Regions from separate parts of the Homo sapiens genome. Here all the other regions are linked to region 3. The links are contacts of gene promoters, found by promoter capture Hi-C in human tissues and cell types (Jung and others, 2019). All regions are on one chromosome and are shown on one strand. The core of a region is centred on a gene start or on the middle of the fragment in contact, and the rest is flanking DNA. Distances in the headings are between cores, read along the strand shown. Region 1 has its middle 110 kb from the start of TRIM37. Region 2 overlaps SKA2 (spindle and kinetochore associated complex subunit 2). Region 3 holds the start of SUPT4H1 (SPT4 homolog, DSIF elongation factor subunit).

What was found. The method cuts DNA at HindIII sites, captures the fragments that hold promoters and counts their contacts. A contact is called where the count stands out against the background at its distance.
Region 1: a fragment that was not itself captured here is called in contact with the fragment with the promoter of SUPT4H1 in region 3 in 1 of the 25 tissues and cell types used here (dorsolateral prefrontal cortex).
Region 2: a contact is called between a fragment that was not itself captured here and the fragment with the promoter of SUPT4H1 in region 3, in 1 of the 25 tissues and cell types used here (bladder).

What each region holds. Positions count from the first base shown.
Region 1 is chr17:58,993,523-58,996,222 of GRCh38, reverse strand. It overlaps a transcript of TRIM37 not described here. Among named protein-coding and RNA genes, the nearest start is that of TRIM37, 110 kb to the left of the region's middle. RefSeq lists a silencer at 2,526-2,700. The HindIII fragment of the contact is 8,511 bases long and covers 1-2,700 here.
Region 2 is chr17:59,118,326-59,121,025 of GRCh38, reverse strand. SKA2 (spindle and kinetochore associated complex subunit 2) reads left to right here. Exons shown (of 4, transcript NM_182620.4): 3 at 1,531-1,707. It overlaps LOC124904039 (a long non-coding RNA gene), which reads right to left. Exons shown (of 2, transcript XR_007065864.1): 2 at 2,573-2,700. Among named protein-coding and RNA genes, the nearest start is that of TRIM37, 13 kb to the right of the region's middle. The HindIII fragment of the contact is 4,853 bases long and covers 1-2,700 here.
Region 3 is chr17:58,350,756-58,353,455 of GRCh38, reverse strand. It overlaps SUPT4H1 (SPT4 homolog, DSIF elongation factor subunit), which reads left to right and starts at 1,255. Exons shown (of 5, transcript NM_003168.3): 1 at 1,255-1,389; 2 at 1,948-2,054. The coding sequence starts at 1,321. TSPOAP1-AS1 (TSPOAP1, SUPT4H1 and RNF43 antisense RNA 1) reads right to left here. Exons shown (of 5, transcript NR_038410.1): 4 at 1,542-1,712; 5 at 1-1,457. It also overlaps a transcript of RNF43 not described here. RefSeq lists an enhancer at 1-474 and silencers at 862-1,291, 1,572-1,681. The HindIII fragment of the contact is 5,411 bases long and covers 1-2,700 here.

The DNA of each region.
Region 1 (2,700 bases), core at 167-2,666, 640 kb before region 3:
TGGATTAGAAGCATGAGCCACTGTGCCCGCCCAGCCCTGATGTTGATACTTTTTTATTGGTGAACTTAACCTTGAGATTACTTGGTTAAGATGGTGTCTGTGAGGATTTCCTACTATAGATTTACGTTTTCCCCCTTTGTAATTACTAAATATTTGGGGCAGATACTTTGAAACTATGCAGATACCTTGTTTCTATTAATTATTATTATTATTTTTTTTTGGAAGACAGGGTCTGGCTTTGTTACCCATGCTGTAGTGGTGCGATGTTGGCTCATACAGCCTCAACCCCCTGGGCTTAAGCGATCCTCCCACTTCAGCCTCCTAAGTAGCTGGGACTACAGGCATGCGCAGTCACACTGGGATAATTTTTGTATTTTTTATAGAGATGGAGTTCTTGAGTTCTTGGGTTCAAGTGACCCTCCCGTCTCAGCCTCCAAAAGTGCTGCGATAGAGGCATGTGCCACTGCGCCCAGCCAAAACTCTTGCTTACGAATTTTAGCACCTAGTAGTCGATCTTGCCTATGGGAATTATTACTGTAATGTTTTAATGGTACTTTTCTAATTCACTAATTTCTTCTATGTTTTTTGTTAGAATGCTGTGAGGAAAAGTCCCTTCTTCCCCATTTTTGTAATTTCAGCTACTTATTTATATCAGCTACTTTATATATCTATATATGATGGATATTTATTTTTGAGTTATGACTCAATACTGTTAATATTTTGTAGCTTGGCTTGTTCTAATTTTAGCCATTGGAAACTCTTCCAGATTGGCTCCTGTGCCCTTTTCATATGTCTCATTCTTCTTTTTTTTTTTTTTTAAGCATTTCTTTGCTTTCTGACATCACAAGATGCCTACCCCAGCCATGGAATTAACCACTTCCTAAGGAACCATGGTTCTTTTTATTGGAGAATGCTATCTAGAAACAAAGATTTGGATGCCACATATTTATTATTATTAGACTGTCACTGCTTCTAGTCCCACTCAATGGATAGATAGAAAATGTAAATTGGCTGGGTGTGGTGGTGCACACCTGTGGTCCCGGCTACTTGGGAGGCTGAGGTGGGAGGATCACTTGAGCTTGGGAGGTAGAGGTTGCAGTGAGCCAAAATCGTGCTACTGCACTTCAGCCTGCGTGACAGAGTGAGACACTGTCTCAAAAAAAAGAAAATGTATGGCCGGGCACAGTGGCTCATGCCTGTAATCCCAGTACTTTGGGAGGCTGAGGCAGGTGGATCACCTGAGGTCGGGAGTTCGAGACCAACCTGACCAACATGGAGAAACCCCATCTGTACTAAAAATACAAAATTAGCTGGCTGTGATGGCGCATGCCTGTAATCCCAGCTACTCAGGAGGCTGAGGCAGGAGAATCGCTTAAACCCGTGAGGCGGAGGTTGCAGTGAGCCGAGATCGTGCCATTTGCACTCCAGCCTGGGCAACAAGAGCGAAACTCTGTCTCAAAAAAAAAAAAAAAGAAAGAAAGAAAATGTATATAGACAGCTGTTCCTTAGCATCTGTGAGGGATTGGTTCCAAGACTCCCTGTGGATACCAAAGTCCACAGATGCTCAAGTCCCCTATATAAAACGGTATAGTGTTTGCATATAACCTGTGCACATCCTCCTGGATACTTTGTTTTGGGTTTTGAGACGGTCTCATTCTGTTGCCCAGGCTAGGGTGCAGCTGTGCATAGCTTACTGCAGCTATGAAGTCTTAGGCTCAAGCAATCCTCCCACCTCAGCCTCTCAGGTAGCTGGGACTACAGGTGTGAGCCACCACGCCTGATCTCCCAGATACTTTAAATCATCTCTGGATTACCTGTAATACCTAATACAATGTAAATGCTATGTAAATTATTGTGCTATTTTTTTTATTATTTTTTAAAAATAAATTCTGTCTATTGTTGGTTGACTCCATGGATGCAGAAACCAAAGATAATAGAGGGCTGACTGTATAGTTAACTCATGCAAATACACACATTTATGTGTATTTCTGTACATATCTGTGTGTGTGTGTCACTATGACTGTGAGTCTATATTGGTAACAGTTCAGCTCCAGAGGCCTCATTCTGGCCTTCCCTCTTATTTATAATGCCTTTCTCTGACAGAAGCCTAGCTCTCATTAGCTACAATATATGTATGTACTTGTTCAACCCTAATATACAAGTAGCTTCAGAACCGTTGGCCTCCTGTGGATTCCAGGCTATGCCCTACAAAAAACAGATTTACCACCTAAAATACAGTGCTTGTATACAGTTCTTTTAGTCTTTAGCTTTTCAGTATTGTGTCATAACATTTTTTTCAAAGATATTTAGGTTCAAAATTACATTAGTTCTGTTCTTTCACAAAATCCCTTCATTGTGATTTTGTGCTTCGTTGGTGTAACAGGTTCATCTGTTATGGTCTACATTCTGTCCTCCCCCACATATCCTGGTTAATTTGTAAATTTACATACATTAAAATTCAGTCTTTCTGGCATACAGTTCTGTGGGTTTCAACAAATGTCTTGTATCCGCCACCACAATACTATACAGAACATTTCAGTCACCCCCAAGATTCCCCTGTGCTGGCCCTTTATAGGTAACCACCCCCCTTCCCCACAGCTCCTGGCTACCGCTGATCTGATCTGATCTGATCTGTTCTCTGCCCTTTTAGTTTTTGCTTTTCCAGAGTCATGTAAACGGGATCACAGTTTGACCTCTCGC
Region 2 (2,700 bases), core at 161-2,660, 770 kb before region 3:
TGCCCGCCACAATGCCCAGCTAATTTTTTGTATTTTTCGTAGAGACGGGGTTTCACCGTGTTAGCCAGGATGGTCTCGATTTCCTGACCTCATGATCTGCCCGCCTCGGCCTCCCAAAGTGCTGGGATTACAGGCGTGAGCCACTGCGCCCGGCCTAACCCTTTGTTTGATGAGTGGTTTGGTTGAATATAGGATTCTAGATTGGAGATTTTCTCTTAATTTTAACATCATTACTTCGTGGTTTTCTAGCTTCTATTGTTGCTGTTGAAAAATGGATGCCATTCTCATTCCTGATCCTTTGTCTGTGCTTTCCTCCTCAGCCTACCCCAGTCCCTTACCTATCACCTGGAAGTTTCAGAATATTTTTTCTATCCTGCGAAAATTTACAGTTATGGTATAGATCTTTTTATTAATTGTGCTGTCACTTGGTGGGGCCTGAAAATATATGAATCTTACCTAATCATAAAAAAAGAAATCTGGCAGGATACAGTGGCTCACACCTGTAATTCTAGCACTTTGGGAGGCTGATGCAGGAGGATCACTTGAGGCCAGGAGTTTAAGACCAGCCTGGGCAACACAGTGAGATTCCTGTATCTATTTAAAAAAAAAATTAAAGAAAAGAATTACCAAGTGGCAGAAGGGGTCCAATTGAAATGTCTTTTATGGAATAGTGGTAATGTATATTACAAAATAAATCTGGAAAACCAGCATAGTTTATAAATACAGTTGGGTTGGCATGAATTTTATATTTTGTGTGTATATAAGTAAATTGATATTTATACATACTTTATCCCCATGATAGTATGTTTACGAATTTTGGCCGGGCGCAGTGGCTCACACCTGTAATCCCAGCACTTTGGGAGGTTGAGGCGGGCGGATCACAAGGTCAGGAGATTGAGACCATCCTTGCTAACACGGTGAAACCCCTTCTCTACTAAAAATACAAAAAATTAGCTGGGCGTGGTGGCGGGCGCCTGTAGTCCCAGCTACTCCGGAGGCTGAGGCAGGAGAATGGCATGAACCTGGGAGGTGAAGCTTGCAGTGAGCTGAGATTGCGCCACTGCACTCCAGCCTGGGCAACAGAGTGAGACTCCATCTCAAAAAAAAAAAAAAGATTTTTATAAGTAGTTTCAAGTTCTTATTCTTTAAGAACAAATACTAATAGTGCCTTTTATCTTCTTCTGAATAGCATTTAGAATTGTATTTTAGAAATATTGTATAATTTATTATTGTGAACTATCCATCAAATGTTATATATCTAAGGTGACCCTTATTTGCTGTTTAATATTGCTAATTTTTTTGGTGGGTTATTTCTGTACCTAGGCTATAAATTCCTTGAGAATAGGATCTAGGTCTTATACTTTTCTCTCTTCCCCACCTCCCATCTGATGTCATGTGGCTGCATAATTAAATACTCAACAGTGTTCAATTAAATGGATGGTAGAATGTGTTGTATGTATACAGTATTTTAATTCTTAAAAAGTTTAATCTTTCATAATTTAATACATGTTCACTTTTTTCCTGACATAGAAAAATCCAGTTACACTCTTAAAGGAATTGTCAGTGATAAAGTCTCGATATCAAACTTTGTATGCCCGCTTTAAACCAGTTGCTGTTGAGCAGAAAGAGAGTAAGAGCCGCATTTGTGCTACTGTGAAAAAGACTATGAATATGATACAAAAACTACAGAAGCAAACAGACCTGGAGGTAATGCTTTCAGTTGACAGGTTAGATTTGTTTAGCTTTAGCTCTGAGTGTTGCTTTGAAAAATAAACCTGATGTAACTTAAATTTTGAAACTCAGCAGTCAGTTTGAACTATTGAAAGATTTTCCTGATACCCTGAAGTATAATAGCTCTTATTTCTGTTTATTTAAAAATAAGCATTTGGACTTGACATGGTTAATAAAGAATTGTGCTGTCTTGAATTATGTAACCATGGCAGAAAACTTGGTAATACTTATAAAATCTAGCAGCTTAGCTGGTTCCTGTAAGTACTAGTGAGACTGAGATGTCTAGAAAAGGGTGGCTTAGAGTGCTGTATCAAGGAGCTGTGTCTGGACATGGCAGAAAATAGCGTAGTCTGCCACGAGCATGGGAAGGAGGAAGGGCTGCATATGTGATATTTATTTGCCAACTCTACACTAAATTTTGGCTTAAGATACTTTGAATTATGGGCTTGTAGCTAGAGTAAATCAGAAAGGTTAATTACCCAGGTCAGTTTGATCAAGAATACTTTATATTGCAAATGGAGGGGAAAAAATAGAATAATATCTGCTTAGAACGATAAAATGATACCTTAGATGTATCTGTTATATCACAAGGAGATGAATGATGGAGGAAGGAAGGGCAATTGAACAGGGAATAGAGGTAATGGGGAGACAGAATTTAAAACAGGGTTGTGTCACATGCTAGTAAATTAAATGCAAAAAAAAGTATGTATATGATAAGCTTTTATAAATCATCTCAAATCACACATTCTTCATTATATGTGCCTGACAATAGAGCACATAACCTTGTTCTTGGAAAACAAATAGCTGATTAAGTATAGTTCCAGATGTACATGACAACATATCTGTATAGAACCATAAATTTATTGAAGCACAGAATAAACTTGGGTGAGAGGGCAAAGGGAAAAATGGTATTTTGAATATTTACAAATTTCCCCCACTGGATATAATAAATTGATGGTATATTTTTGA
Region 3 (2,700 bases), core at 6-2,505:
TTCTTACTGTGCTTCAGTCATTATTATTATACTGTTCACTTCACACATTATCATACTTCAGTGACTCAGACCTTGGGCAAATACTCTGTGCCTCGCTTTTTCAGTCCATAAAATGGGCCTACTTAATAGTTGTTGCAGGACTTACATGAGATAATAGAGTGTAGAAAATATGTTCCAAAGTGGAAAGTTTTATTCAGTGATAGAAAACATCCAAACCTGTCACAGAGCCCATCTGAACACAGCATGGGACCGCCAACAAGAAGAAAGCCCGCCCGGAAGCAGCTCAATCAGGAGGCTGGGCTGGAATGACAGCGCAGCGGGGCCTGAAACTATTTATATCCCAAAGCTCCTCTCAGATAAACACAAATGACTGCGTTCTGCCTGCACTCGGGCTATTGCGAGGACAGAGAGCTGGTGCTCCATTGGCGTGAAGTCTCCAGGGCCAGAAGGGGCCTTTGTCGCTTCCTCACAAGGCACAAGTTCCCCTTCTGCTTCCCCGAGAAAGGTTTGGTAGGGGTGGTGGTTTAGTGCCTATAGAACAAGGCATTTCGCTTCCTAGACGGTGAAATGAAAGGGAAAAAAAGGACACCTAATCTCCTACAAATGGTCTTTAGTAAAGGAACCGTGTCTAAGCGCTAAGAACTGCGCAAAGTATAAATTATCAGCCGGAACGAGCAAACAGACGGAGTTTTAAAAGATAAATACGCATTTTTTTCCGCCGTAGCTCCCAGGCCAGCATTCCTGTGGGAAGCAAGTGGAAACCCTATAGCGCTCTCGCAGTTAGGAAGGAGGGGTGGGGCTGTCCCTGGATTTCTTCTCGGTCTCTGCAGAGACAATCCAGAGGGAGACAGTGGATTCACTGCCCCCAATGCTTCTAAAACGGGGAGACAAAACAAAAAAAAACAAACTTCGGGTTACCATCGGGGAACAGGACCGACGCCCAGGGCCACCAGCCCAGATCAAACAGCCCGCGTCTCGGCGCTGCGGCTCAGCCCGACACACTCCCGCGCAAGCGCAGCCGCCCCCCCGCCCCGGGGGCCCGCTGACTACCCCACACAGCCTCCGCCGCGCCCTCGGCGGGCTCAGGTGGCTGCGACGCGCTCCGGCCCAGGTGGCGGCCGGCCGCCCAGCCTCCCCGCCTGCTGGCGGGAGAAACCATCTCCTCTGGCGGGGGTAGGGGCGGAGCTGGCGTCCGCCCACACCGGAAGAGGAAGTCTAAGCGCCGGAAGTGGTGGGCATTCTGGGTAACGAGCTATTTACTTCCTGCGGGTGCACAGGCTGTGGTCGTCTATCTCCCTGTTGTTCTTCCCATCGGCGAAGATGGCCCTGGAGACGGTGCCGAAGGACCTGCGGCATCTGCGGGCCTGTTTGCTGTGTTCGCTGGTCAAGGTGTCAGTCGGGGACCTGGTTGTAGGGCCCATGGGGGACCAAGGTCGGGGAAAGAGGGCGGAATGGGGCTGTGGGACAGTAAAGAGAAAAGTTAAGTCTCAGAACTCAGAGGTGGCAGGGGGAGTGAGAAGCCGAAGGAGGCCATCGTTTACCTCGTAGGATCGCGGACAGGTCTTGCAGCTGAGGGCAGGGGCGGTCTTACATGCCTTTGAATCCTCAGCTCTTAGACGTTCGGTGAACTTACGTTGGAGCCGAAAGACACTGGGAGTCAGAGGCGGGTGGGGATCCGCTGCTGAGTGAGTAGTCGGAAAGGATGCCTGACCCTGAGTAGACTAGAGAAAGGAATAGATAAAACGGAATTGGGAACGAGAGAGGAAGGAGTGGGAGGGTGGGACTTAGGAATGAAGCTTTGAGAGTAGTAGGTGGGGAACCTTAGGATACACAGTCAACATAGGGAAACAAGAAATTGAGCAGGTCGAAGTATTGAGAAAGCTACTTTTTCTCTTGGTCTTGTTCATGCTTATCTCTCCTTTTCCTTTATTTTTCTTTCACTCCCAGACTATAGACCAGTTTGAATATGATGGTTGTGACAATTGTGATGCATATCTACAAATGAAGGGTAACCGAGAGATGGTATATGACTGCACTAGCTCTTCCTTTGATGGGTAAGCCGCTTCAGTTTCCATCATTCACTTCTGCATTACCCAACCTGCACCCAGAGAAGTAAATGCAGGGCAAGTGTTAATCCTAGTTGGGCCCAGCCATTCGTTTTTGGGGGTTATTTTGTGTGGGTTTTTTTTTTTTTTTTTTTTTTTGAATCAGGGTTTTGCTCTGTGGCTCAGGCTGGAGTGCAGTGGCATGATCATAGCTCACTGCAGCGTGGAATGATCCTCTGACTTCAACCTCCCAGAGTGCTGGGATTATAGGTGTAAGCCACTGTGTCCAGCCTCAACAGTTATTTTGGGACATACTAGTGCTATGCATCTAATACAGTGACCACTATCCACGTGTAGCTACTGAGCACTTGAAATGTGTCTAGTCCAAATTAAGACATGCTTTTAAGTATAAAATATACCCCAGATTTCAAAGACTTAACATGAGAAGAAAGAATGTAATCTTAATAATGTTTGTTAAATGCATGAAAATTTTTTTTGAAAATGAAGGGAAGGGAGGTGTAGTAATGGTAGATCATTGCCCAAAAGCTGTTGCTTTTTTTTTTTTTTTTTTTTTGGACAGACTTTTCGCCCTTGCCACTCATGCTGGAGTGCAATGGTGCAGTCTCGGCTCACTGCAACCTCTGCCTCCTGGGTT